Regions from separate parts of the Homo sapiens genome. Here regions 1 and 2 are each linked to region 3. The links are contacts of gene promoters, found by promoter capture Hi-C in blood cells and fetal thymus (Javierre and others, 2016). All regions are on one chromosome and are shown on one strand. Each heading gives the region's core, a stretch centred on a gene start or on the middle of the fragment in contact. The rest is flanking DNA. Distances are from core to core; before and after follow the strand shown. Region 1 overlaps UBAP2L (ubiquitin associated protein 2 like). Region 2 overlaps TPM3 (tropomyosin 3). Region 3 holds the start of SNAPIN (SNAP associated protein).

Evidence for each region. Contacts are between HindIII fragments. The CHiCAGO score rates a contact against its expected background, and 5 or more counts as called.
Region 1: a fragment that was not itself captured here is called in contact with the fragment with the promoter of SNAPIN in region 3 in 3 of 17 cell types (total B cells, naive B cells and erythroblasts); the score reaches 6.0 in total B cells.
Region 2: a contact is called between a fragment that was not itself captured here and the fragment with the promoter of SNAPIN in region 3, in 2 of 17 cell types (M0 macrophages and total B cells). The highest score is 6.1, in M0 macrophages.

Annotation. Positions count from the first base shown.
Region 1 is chr1:154,239,077-154,243,286 of GRCh38, reverse strand. It overlaps UBAP2L (ubiquitin associated protein 2 like), which reads right to left. Exons shown (of 27, transcript NM_014847.4): 9 at 1,722-1,774; 10 at 1-70. Among named protein-coding and RNA genes, the nearest start is that of SNORA58B, 19 kb to the left of the region's middle. The HindIII fragment of the contact is 2,081 bases long and covers 1,079-3,159 here.
Region 2 is chr1:154,177,310-154,181,472 of GRCh38, reverse strand. The region is part of intron 2 of TPM3 (tropomyosin 3); the gene reads left to right. Among named protein-coding and RNA genes, the nearest start is that of TPM3, 13 kb to the left of the region's middle. RefSeq lists an enhancer at 284-1,280. The HindIII fragment of the contact is 2,058 bases long and covers 1,000-3,057 here.
Region 3 is chr1:153,655,929-153,660,158 of GRCh38, reverse strand. It overlaps SNAPIN (SNAP associated protein), which reads right to left and starts at 1,456. Exons shown (of 4, transcript NM_012437.6): 1 at 1,273-1,456; 2 at 975-1,021; 3 at 593-711. The coding sequence starts at 1,415. RefSeq lists an enhancer at 1,611-1,690. The HindIII fragment of the contact is 14,460 bases long and covers 1-4,230 here.

The DNA of each region.
Region 1 (4,210 bases), core at 870-3,369, 580 kb before region 3:
TTGTCACATTCTCCGCAGGCAGAGGCACTGAAGACACATTAGAGGCAGTGAAGATCTTGGTCTCAGAAAGCTGGAAAACAGAGGGATTAGTCACTCTTGGTGTCAGGGATGCTACAGTCAGAAACTTGGCATAGGTAAGGGGAATTCAACATCAAGAAAAAGTGAAAGCCCTATAAAGAGAAAACTATCTACCCTGAGGAATCCTGAATGGATTGACTTTCAAGCCCTTCAATATATGCTCAATAGTTTTAGCCAAAGAAAGAGTAGAAGCAAGGAACCCAATAAAATATAGTGGAGTCACATGATCATATGCATACTGAACTTACAGGCATGCTAGACATAAAAAAAAAAAAATAAAAGAAAGAAAATCCCTCTATATTTTCCCATTACAGTTCCCAACTCCCACCTCTTCCCAAACCACATTTGTCTTCTACTACTCCCTTCACAGCCCCACCCCTCCCAAAGAAAGATCATAACCAAGATGAAGAAATAAATAAAAGAAGTTCATTTTTAGCTTTTGAGCAGTAAGGGCCCAAGTGCTGCTGAATTAAGGTTTTTATGGGAGATCGTTTTAACTAGATGTTATTTTTGCCTTAATATTTGACTTTGTGACATCTAGTCCTTCCACTATTAAGGCATCAAACTTAGGTAAGCAAATGCAGGGATTAACTTTTCCTACTATTCAAAAGTTGATTTGGGTTTCAGTTTTATTTCTTGATTAAAATCGCTAAAGCACAGAAAATCCACTCTCCCCTCAATGCCCAACACCATTTATCATTCTCTGAAAGTTGCTTAAGCGGACAAGCCAAATCTCAGAAAGGAACATAATTTGCCCATTTTCACAAAGCAGTCTAGTTCATTGATTATACAATAGAAAATAATCACCCTGTGATGCTGATGCCTCTGAAATTTAAAAAACCCAGAATTGGCAACCAAAACAGTCTTCACATGTCATTTCCTCTTATCACAAAAGCTGTCTTGCCTAACTACATGAAAGTATAGAAAAGTACATAGATTAAAAATGTTAAAACAAGAGTTTATCCATGATCACTGAAAACCATAATTCACAGCAGAAGCTTGACTGTGACCAGGAATCAGCAAAATTCTTACTCAGGTAGTACTCAAATGAATTCACAGAGCTTGTTTACGTGCCACCCATCTATGAGGTTTCCAAGTTAAGTCAAGCTGGCAGATAGCCAATTCTACAGATATTCATCTCAATCACAATTATACAGTTGGGCTTCAAATAAATACAAGGGTTCCAGAGTCAACCAGATTACAAGTTTGAGGATTTGGTACCACAACACTCGCTTTGGATCCACTGCCAATCCATTACAGGACCTTATAGCAAATACTTAAATGCACCAAGTAGTCATGTACCACCAGCAGCTGTTACTCAATGCACTACCTGCCTAACTCCACTTCTGGTGCCCTACCCAACCACCAATCTCTTCCTGGGATAAATCCGACAATCAGATATTGGACTTACACAAGTGCACTTGCCCTTTCCATAGTGTGGTTCCACAGAGTCCTGTTCATGCCCAGTCTCCTTCATATAACATATGTGAAATGTTCTGGCTCAGAACACTATTTTGGATGTAAAAGTTTTGGGTCAGAATCTTAAGGGTGAATTTTGAGGGGTAGAAACATACCCATTTTCTATCCCTAAACAACACTTAGGGATAGAAGGCATTAGTGAGGAATGACCTGGGAATACCTACATCTTCATTCCAATCTTCAGTCCCCCACTCCTCTGTTGCAGTCCTCCATGCACCTGAGAATAAAGAAAAATAGTGAAGTAACTTCACTATTAAATGCCAGTACAAAGCATGTATAGAAAACATCAATGTATTAATTTTTTTGGCAGCCAAAAGTATGACTAAAATTTAGTAATCAGAAGGCCAGGTGTGGTGGCTCACACCTATAATCCTAATACTTTGAGAGGCCGAGGTGGGTGGATCACTTGAGGTCGGGAGTTCGAGACCAGCCTGACCAACATGGAGAAACCCTGTCTCTACTAAAAATACAAAATTAGCTGGGCGTGGTGGCACATGCCTGTAATCCCAGCTACGCGGGAGGCTGAGGCAGAAGAATGGCTTGAACCTGGGAGGTGGAGGTTGCAGTGAGCTGAGATCGCGGCATTGCACTCCAGCCTGGGCAACAAGAGTGAAACTGTCTCAAAACAAACAAAAACAAAAAACAAAACAAAAAAAAAGAAATTCTTGGGCTTCAAAGGTAAGGAAACACTCTTTAGAAAAGGATATCTCAGAGTACCAGGGTTTTAATAAGATTATGATTTCATAGCTACTTTCAGTTTTTGTTACAAAGCAGGAATGGGGGTGGGGGGGGGGACAGACAGACAACCACCCAATGCTCAAAGCAGTATCTTTAAGGTCCTCAGGTTGATTTAGTGGTCAATTCAGTGAAATGGCAGCAGCCAATTTAAACCATAACATGCAAACTACACCTATTTATCTAGTATAAGACAAAAAATACTGTAGGCAGTCTGAAGAAGGATAGTAGCACTGATAGAGAAACACAAATGGTTACCACATAATGGTTAGTGAAAGAGCAGTGAAGAAGGGTGGGTTTGAAACCCGAACTGAGGGCATTGAAAACTATCTGCTATGAGAATTAGATTAAAAATGCATACTCAGCAGAAGTCAAGTTTATAGATCTTATTGGTTTAACTGTATAAGAAAAGCCCCTATAGAGCTGTCCTCTTCAAAAGACAATGAACAAGACTGAAAAATCAGGTATGAATGATAGTTACTGTCCTAACCTTACTCATATAGAACTTGAAACCTGACCTGCTATGGTCATGGCACAGACAACGGGAGTATACACTGTCCTTGTGTTTGTTGGTAATACGGAAGCTGGGATACAGTTTCTACTGGAGAAATCCAAAAGCAATCAAACCACCTTCCACATTCCTTTTTTGTGCTTCATGTATACATATATTTTCAGAAAAAAAAAAATGTCCTTTCTTAAAAAATAAGGGTGAGAATTTCTAACAAGAACCAGGATTCTTCCCTTCAGCCAAAGGCACAGTAAAAACAAGAACCTGTCTGAAGAAGGGACAAGAGCACCCTTATTTTCTTGCTAGAATAATATATATTAAATAACTCTTCAATCCTTCCCTCCTACTGGAAAAAAGCTTATAAGAATGAAATGAAAAGTCTGACATTCAGATGCTGTGCCACTGAAGAGAAGTATTCTAACACCACATTAGAAGTATTCTAATACAAAGCCCATCTAAAATTCTTCTAAACATTTAATAATGCAAAAATCTTCTTTCTTAGAGGAAAATATATTCATTGTAAAGACTTTCCCAGGAAAATATTAAAATTGCACCAGGGAAATCCTAAACCACTTAATAATGACAATATTCTCAAAACCAAAGTCCAATCTCAGTACAGACAAGTTACAAACCACATTCTTTTCTCCTTCATTGATACCACACTTTCTTCTCATTGACATCCATCTTATCCTGGCTCGATGGAATCCAAGTTGCATTAGCACTTATACACAATCCTAGAGTTAGACATGATCTAACAGGTTATTTAATCTAGGCTCTTGATGCAAGAATTTTTTTCTGCACACTGATGACTTCAACTGGGATGGAAAGGAGGAACGTAGACACCTAACTGGTATGTTCCTATTCAGGATATACGGTCATGGCTGAGGAAGAGAGAGAGCTGAGGAAGCATTAAGGAACAGAATAGATGGAAATGCTCTAAACAACAGACTAGGGTTTCCATTCCATTAGCAGAAAGCAATCAGTGTAACTGTCAAATATTCATTAAATGAACAGAAAGGTAAGTGGACACAGAAAAATGAGAGAAAAAGGCAGAAAGAGAAAAAGCAGAAAGACATAAAAATGACATATCCACAGATATTTCAGCTCATAAAAATCTACAAAAATATCTGGGGCAGTTAGGCACCTGGATGTATCATACCAGGAGCAGTCTGGGGGATAATTTTGGGGGATAATTTGACCCCTCAACCCCAATGAAATCAAGTCCTGAAACAAAAAAAAAAGAAAAGAAAAGAAAAAACAACCAGTGAAATTTTGCTTGTAAATGAGAAAGTCTGCCCCAATACATAATCCCCATTGTACCTGTGGATATTTTAAAGGTAGGTTTGGATTTTTTTTTTAATTTAAAGGGGAAACTCAAGTTTGCTATCAGGAAAACACAAAAAGAAACCA
Region 2 (4,163 bases), core at 779-3,278, 520 kb before region 3:
AAATTCAAGATCCAGTGAAAGTACTCATGTGGTTTATTCTTTGTTCTTTGTTCTTTCCCTTGGTAAGTTTTTGTTTTTGTTTTTCTTTTTGGCTGCTCCTCTGGGAAATAACTGAGAATGTTTTTGGGAGGGGGAGGGGTGGATTTCAGAAAAGGATGGTAATTGGGGGACAGCTGCCCTCCAGTTTAAATACTTAAAGATTGTTGGAATACTCACTTATTTTTATAAGTGGTCATGGAGATGCTGGGATGGGAGCTTGTTGTCTTCCTCAGACACCTTTTTCTAGGTAGATTTTTTTCCTCTGTTCAGTTTGCCAACAACTTCTTATTATCTGTGCAAGTGAGATGGACTGGCTGGGTGACTCTTTATGGCCAGTGGCACTTTCTCATCTCCTTTGTTCTGGAGACCAGATAGCTTTAAAGGGGAAGACAGAGGAACTGGCCATGTGTTGAGCTGCAGAATCTTAGGCTCAGTATTTAAATATGGACATTCTAGGAGTAGTTCTAAGGTGGGTGATTCCTGCCTCCCATCCCCCCTCTTTTTTTTTTTAGATGGAGACTTGCTCTGTAGCCCAGCCTGGAATGCAGTTGCACGATCTCTGCTCACTGCAACCTCCACCTCCCAGGCTCAAGTGATTCTCCTGCCTTAGCCTCCTGAGTGGCTGGGATTACAGGCATCCACCACCACACTCGGCGATTTTTTTTTATTATTTTATTTTTTTATTTTTAGTAGAGATGGGGTTTCACCATGTTGGCCAGGCTGGTTTCAAACTCCTGACCTCAAGTGATCTGCCTGCCTCAGCCTCCCAAAGTGCTGAGATTACAGGCATGAGCCACTGCGCCTGTCCTGGGGTGATGTTTCTTAAGCTACTTTCACTCAGAGCCTGCCAAATTTGCTTATTGAGCTGAGGTCTAGTGAGGAAGTCCTCAGAATGGGGAAGTAGAGTTATAGTTAAATATTGATGAAATCATTTCTTCTACTCCCCAGCCTGAAGAAGCTTAATCTTTTGACTTTCTGCTGCTCTGCTGAACTTTGAACCCCTACTGAGGAGGAGACACCTGTGGGAAGGGAGGGGGGTTGCTTGGGCTACCTGTTATCCTCTTAAGGCATTCTGGAATGTGGGTTTTGCAGACTCCTCCCTCCTCTGGAGCGGGAAACTGCACTCTCTGATGGTATCTCATGCTGTTAGTGGGATTGTCACTTAATTATTTTCCTGGTTACTTTGTGTGAACATCCAAGCCACCCTTGTTGGGAAGCTAGATGAGTCTAAAACTGAGACACTGGTGTTCTAGGATCCATCTTTCTTTTCTGCTCTCGGCCTGGAAATTGGTCTTTTATAATGTAGCACCTTGTCAAATTTACTTTCAGTTCTGTATTTCCTTTTTACTTCTGTCTAAATGGAAACAGATGGCAACATAATGTTTAAATGCAGTCTTTTTCCTTATCTCTTTTTTTTTGTGGTAGTGGTGATAAAAATACATGTAAAATTTACCATTTTAACCATTTATAAATGTACAGTTCACCTTATCTGTTTTTAATAACTCTCTCCTAATTGTCCCTGATATTTTTCTCTTTTTAATTTTTTTCTAGTCTAAAAAACTTAAGAGGCTGGGTGCGGTGGCTCACACCTGTAATCCCAGCCCTTTGGGAGGCCTAGGCGGGTGGATCTGAGGTCCACCTGTGGATCTGATGAAACCCCATCTCTACTAAAAATACAAAAAATTAGCTGGGCATGGTGGCGCATGCCTGTAATCCCAGCTACTTGGGAGGCTGAGGCACAAGAATTGCTTCAACCCTGGAGGCGGAGGTGGCAGTGAACCAGGATTGGATCATGCCACTGTACTCCAGCCTGGGCGAGTATCGGCACTGGGGGAGTGAGGGGTCAACTGCGGGAGTGTAAGGTCAGCACACTACCTCTGCCTCAAAAAGAAAAAAAAAAGTAATAACAAAAACCTTAAGAGTACTACCGAGGGAGTGGGCTTTGATTCTGGCCTTAATCCTAAATTCCTAGTCTCTGGAGAGGTTAGAATGCTTGACTGTTGTGTGGTTCTCTTCTATTCGTGGGCCTGGTGGACTAAGCAACCTTTCTTTGGTTGCTTTGCTTTCCTTTCTCTTTCCCCAGTACTAGAACACACACTCACAGGGGAGAGGCAGATAGCCCTTTACCCCTGCTTAGGCTCCGCCTTTGTTTACTGTGGGGCAGATAGCTCTACTCCCTTCCAACTTGCCTCCCCTTTGGTGAAGTTTAAATTCCCCAAGGACACGGTATCTCCCTGGGTAATGCATTTGTGAGCACAGTGAACTCAAATAGTCCTTTACTCACAGGGCTCAAGCCTAACTTTCTGATACTCTTTCATTTGAATTTTATCTGTGGCTTTTATCTAATAAGAGAAACCCCAGTGTGGCAGAAAGCCAGATTTAGGCTAATCCCCTTCTGTCCTTGGCCCTGTTCTGCCTGAGAGTACCATCACACTGTCAGTTTCTTGCCTGGAGGGGTTGACATATTTGGGAAATCTCTTTGGAGTGGAGGATAGCCGAAGGTGTTGTCAGCCATCTGGTAATGTGACTGAGTTGCTGGGGCATTCTACTCTTTCCCCAATCCCTCACCCAGGATCTTTGCTTCCTGGGCAGTGGAGAATCCTATTATTACTTGAAGGGAAGAACCACAGAGTACTGTATATCCTCCACACTGGGCAGAGATAGGTCAGCTGAAACACCAAAACCGCATCTGGATGGGCATGCTAAAACCTAAGATGATTAGGAAAGTGCAGAGCTTAACGTTTCCCAGGGCCACAGGTAGCCTGGTCTGCAAAAAGTAGGCCTGTTCAATCTCTTGGTACCCATTGGTATTATTTGACCTGAAAGGGACAGGCACTGTGCATAGACTCATGAGGGAAAAGTCAGCTTGTCTTCCTTGTTCCTTTAAACAAAGTATCAGATCTTGATTCTGCAGGCTTTTGTTTCATTGTAAAGAGAACTGATCCTCTGTGCTAGGAGAAAAGAGAAAGGCAAGGTCCCATTCCCTACCACTCCACCCTGGAGGGGGTCTCTGAAGCTTTTTCTAGGACTCCCATCTCAGGTTCTGCTTTTGATACAGGCTTGTTCATGTGTGCATGCTCTTAGGAGGGCACCAAGATGTGTTTTCCCCCTCTCCCTTTTCAGCCTTGCTAAGAATTCTATTGTAAATGCTGATTTGTGGGAGAAACTGCCTGAGCCAGCTTGCTGTCATGGCAACTGTACACCCCCGCCCCATAGCCTGTTATCTTCTACTCCAGTTTGGGTAACTACTGGTGAGCTGCATGATGTCTTACATTTCATGAGCTTCCTCTAAATCTAGTTGTATTTTTCGTCTGAGGGGGGTAAGTCATTTTACTAGCAGTGTCTCCTAGGTCTTGCCTGATAGCCTGACTTGCTCTTGATCCATGGCCTTGTTGGGTTTGTGAGGAGAAATGTGTGTTGTTACAGAGAACATCTATTTTTCTGGAAGAGGCAGAAGCAGAGAATACTTGTCTTTGTGGTGTTTTGAGTAGTGTAGTTAGAGGCACAAATGGTTTCTTAATGATTTCAGCTTATGTTGACTTCTCGATTTTCTTTGCCTGGTGGCTAGATTGTAGCCCCAGCCCTCTGCTTCCCTTCCTAGTCTCTTCAGCTTCTCATGTTTGTATGTGGAAGTTTTTGTGCCAGTCCTGATGGTTAAAAAGGAGTCTTTTGGTCTATATTCTTCCTCATCGGAGCTAGTGGCCCAGGCTGTTTCTATAGCTGCACCAACTCCTGCCTGCCAGGAAGAAATCAGGGTAATAGAATTCAGGCACAATCTGGGCTATAGAAGAGAGATCGTGTTTACCAGGCACTTGGATAAGCATCTGAACTGGGTGGTGTGCGGGGCATATTAAATTCTTGTATACTGTTGCAGTCAGGGTACCTCCCACCAGTAAAGGTAGCGGGGAGGCAGTCATGGAAAGAGGTTTTCCTACCATTAGAATTTATCCATCCACCTGCAGGCTGCCTCCTTCTTTCCTTGTTTCTTAGAGAAAACCCATCCAGGATGGGTTTACTTGGACTCTAACCTATATACTTCATTGTGAGATGGAGGCCAGGGGGAAGATTGTCGCTGTATTAGAGGGTGAAGCTAAGGGGATGGCTGGAGGAATAGAAAGGAGAAA
Region 3 (4,230 bases), core at 207-2,706:
CCCAGCTACTTGGGAGGCTGAGGTGGATGGATCGCTTGAGCCTGGGAGGTAGAGGCTGCAGTGAGCCTTTATCATGCCACTGCACTCCATCCTGGGTGATAGACCTTGTATCATAAAAATAAATAGCCAGGTGTGGTGGTTCACTCCTGTAGTCTCAGCACTTCGGGTGGCCAAGGTGGGAAGCTCACTTGAGCCCAGGAGTTCCAGACCAGCCTGGGCAACATGGAGAAACCCTACTTCTACAAAAAAATACAAAAATTAGCTGGGCGTTGTGCACGCTTGTAGTCCTAGTTACTCGGGAGGCGGAGGCAGAATTGCTTGAGCCCAGGGGGCGGAGGTTGCAGCGAGCTGAGATTGAGCCACCGCACTCCAGCCTGGGTGACAGAGGGAGACTGTCACACACACACACACAAGAATGTAAATGGCAGCAACTGAATAGTGAGAATGAGACGAATTTTCCTAGGTATTTTTCAAGTACTGGGAGAAGTGAATTTCCCTTTCCCCAAAGAATTTTAAAATTACAGTGGCTTTCACTGTGTTGAGGACTTACAAAAAAGGGCAAAGAATCACTGTTGGTAAGATATTCTTTTACCTGAGCATTCTGTAGAATGTTGTTAACCAAGACAACGCGTCGCCGGGCATTAAGTAGCTTCTTAACATAGGGGTCAAGATCCAGGGCCACCTTCTGATCCTCATTTATGCGGCACAGTTCTGGGGATGGAAGTAAGGTGCAGCTAAGATCTAACGGCTTATCTCTTGTTCTGAGGGAAAGCAGGCTGGTAATGGGATGGAAAACACTTGCACCCAAACGGGCCACAGCCATTAGAGATTTAAGACATCCCTGAAAGGAGGAGTCCTTTGGCAGCCCTGATGCCCTGGAAGCAAGTGACAGAAACTCAGCCCAGGGGTTGGCAAAAACCTAAGGTCCTGAAAGTGGGCTGAAGAATTCCGGGTACACAGGGATGCTCACTCACCTGTGGCTAGGTTGTCAATTTGTTCCCGGAGCTCTACCTGGCTCTCTCTGCAAAGAGGTACAAGGCCTACAAGGTCAGGCAGTTACCGGAGCTCAGGAAACGAACTCCCCTACGTATTTACCAAGTACTGAGAGAAGCCGGCCTCCGCTGAACCCTCCACCTGCGGCCTTCCCGCCTGTCCTCCCCGCCTCGAATCAGTTTCCTAAATTTATGCCCACTCCCAGCCAGAACACTTTCTTGGCCCCGCCCCTACAAAGCCAGAGAGACAGGCCCCGCCCCCAACTTCCCTCCCGGGCACCTGACGGCGTGTACGTGAGAGTCGAGCTGCTGCACAGCGGGTCGCAGGAACTCCAGCAGCCCTTCGGCGAAAAGGTCGCGGCCTGTGGGCCCCGCCACCGGGGTCCCTGCCCCCGATACAGCGGCGGAACCAGCCCCCGCCATCACGAATTGTCCTGAAGCCCGAAACCTGCCGCGAGGGCCGCCGGGAACCGGAGCCGCGCCGCACTGCCCCGCCCCGTGAGGGGGCGCCCGGGAAATGCTGTCTCCACCAAGACACCGGGGTTTCTGGGAAATGGAGTCTAGCGCGAACCGGGCGGGGAGGAGGGCCAGGCCGTAGGAGTAGAGGCCTTGTGGCTGGTCTTGAAAATCTCCAAAGTTCAGGTTGTAGAAAGGAACCAGTTTTTGGAGTGGATACTTTTCGTTTTCTTTAAAGGTGAAAATAAACGCGAATACCTGCAGTTGTCCATAGCCTTCCCATGTTAACTTTATGAGATAGCCGGGCATGGTGGCGGGCACCCAGCTACTTGGGAGACTGAGGCAGGAGAACCGCTTGAACCCGGGAGGCGGAGATTGCAGTGAGCCGAGATCGCGCCACTGCACTCCAGTCTGGGCAACAGAGAGACTCCGCCTCAAAAAAAAAAAAAAAAAAAAAAAAAGCAACCCAAACCAAACAAAAACAAACCAAAAACAAAAACACTTTATGAGAAAGCCACATTATATTCATAGTATCGTTTTCTATTTCTAAAGAGTTTATTGTGGTTGGTTGTTTTTAAGACAAGGTCTCTCTCTGTCGCCTAGGCTGGAGTGCAGTGCCACCGTCTTGGCTCACTGTAGCCTTCACCTCCTGGGGTCAAGAGGTCCTCCTGCTTCAGTCTCCCAAGTAGCAGGGACCACAGGTGTTAGCCACCATGCCTGACTAATTTTTCATTTTCTGTAGAGAAGAGGTCTCACTATGTTTGTTGCCCAGACTGGTCTCGAACTCCTGGGCTCAGGTGATCCTCCCAACTCAGCCTCCTAAAGTGCTGGGATTACAGACGTGAGCCACCACGCCTGGTCTATTTCTAAAGAGTATATTTTTAATGGCATTAAATATGTAAAAAACTGCATGTATCCGAATTTCATTCCTTTTTAAGGCTGAATAATATAAACATGCAGGCAGGGCATGGTGGCTCACTCCTGTAATCCCAGCACTTTGGGAGGCTGAGGCGGGAGGATCACCTGAGCCCAGGAGTTCGAGATCAGTCTGGGCAACAAACCTAGTGAGACTCTGTCTCTACAGGAAATAAAAAATTAGCCAGGCGGCCAGGCGCAGTGGCTCACGCCTGTAATCCCAGCACTTTGGGAGGCCGAGGCGGGTGGATCACGAGGTCAGGACATCGAGACCACGGTGAAACCCCATCTCTACTAAAAATACAAACAATTAGCCGGGCGCAGTGGCGGACTCCTGTAGTCCCAGCTACTCGGGAGGCTGAGGCAGGAGAATGGCGTGAACCCGGGAGGCAGAGCTTGCAGTGAGCCCTGATCGCGCCACTGCACTCCAGCCTGGGCGACAGAGCGAGACTCCATCTCAAAAAAAAAAAAAAAAAAAAAAATTAGCCAGGCATGGTGGCTCACAGCTGTGGTCCCCGCTACTTGGGAGGCTGAAGTAGGAGGACCTTGAGCCTAGGAAGTTGAGGCTACAGTGAGCCAAGATCGTGGCACTGCATGCACTTCAGCCTGGGTGACAGGGTGAGACCCTGTCTCAAAAAATAAAAATTAAAAAAAATTTTTTTTTGAGACCGAGTCTTGCTCTGTCACCCAGGCTGGAGTGCAGTGGTGCAATCTCGCTCACTGCAAGCTCCGCCTCCCGGGTTCATGCCATTCTCCTGCTTCAGCCTCCCGAGTAGCTGGGACTACAGGCGCCCACCACCACGCCCGGCTAATTTTTTGTATTTTTAGTAGAGATGGGGTTTCACCACGTTAGCCGGGATGGTCTCGATCTCCTGACCTCGTGATCCACCCGCCTCGGCCTTCCAAAGTGCTAGGATTACAGGCATGAGCCACCGCGCCCGGCCATAAAAATAAATTTTAAAGTTTCCTTAGTTCACTTATTTTTCCTTTCATTTTTAGAGACAAGGTCTCACTCTGTTGCTGAGGCTGGAGTGCAGTGATGTTATCATAGCTCACTGTAACCTCAAACTTCTGGGCTCGAGCCATCCTCCTGCCTCAGCCTCCTAAGTAACTGGGACTACAGTCACCTGCCCCCATGCCTGGCTAATTTTTTAAATTTTTTTGGTACAGGCAGGGTCTCCCTATGTTGCCCAGGCTGTTCTCGAACTCCTGGCCTCAAGACACCCTTCCATGGTTTTCTTTTTCCCTGAGAATTATGAAGACAATGATTCCTTCCTTAGTTTAGTTCGGTTTGGTTTTTCATGGCTTTCCAGATAATTTACATCTGTCTCCTAGGCTCTAATGTGTTCCCGTGGCTCCCAATTCCCTAGGCCATGGGGAAGGATGTATGAGCAGAAATGCTCCTGGAGGACAGGCAAAGGCATCCATAGTGATAAATGGGCACCAGAACGTTCAGCTTTGAGCTTCATCTTCAGTAATAAAGGAAGATAAGGCATTTGAATCACTGTGAGATTTGGTGGTCAGCAGCTCTAAACCTAAGACCCCAACTGTGATAACTTTTTTTTTATTATTATTTTTTGTAGAGACGAGGCCTCCCTATGTTGCCCAGGCTGGTCTTGAACTCCTGCATCAAGCAGTCCTCCCACCTCGGCCTCCCAAAGTGCTGGGATTACAGGCGTGAGCCACCAAGCCCAGCCCCAACTGTGATAACTTTTAAAACCTTATACACTTACACTGGGTGGGGTGGCTCATGCCTGTAATCCCACCACTTTGGGAGGCTGAGGCGGGAGGATTGCTTGAAGCCAGGAGTTCAAGACCGGCCTGTGCAACATAGGGAGACTCCCATCTCTACAAAAAAATTAATAAA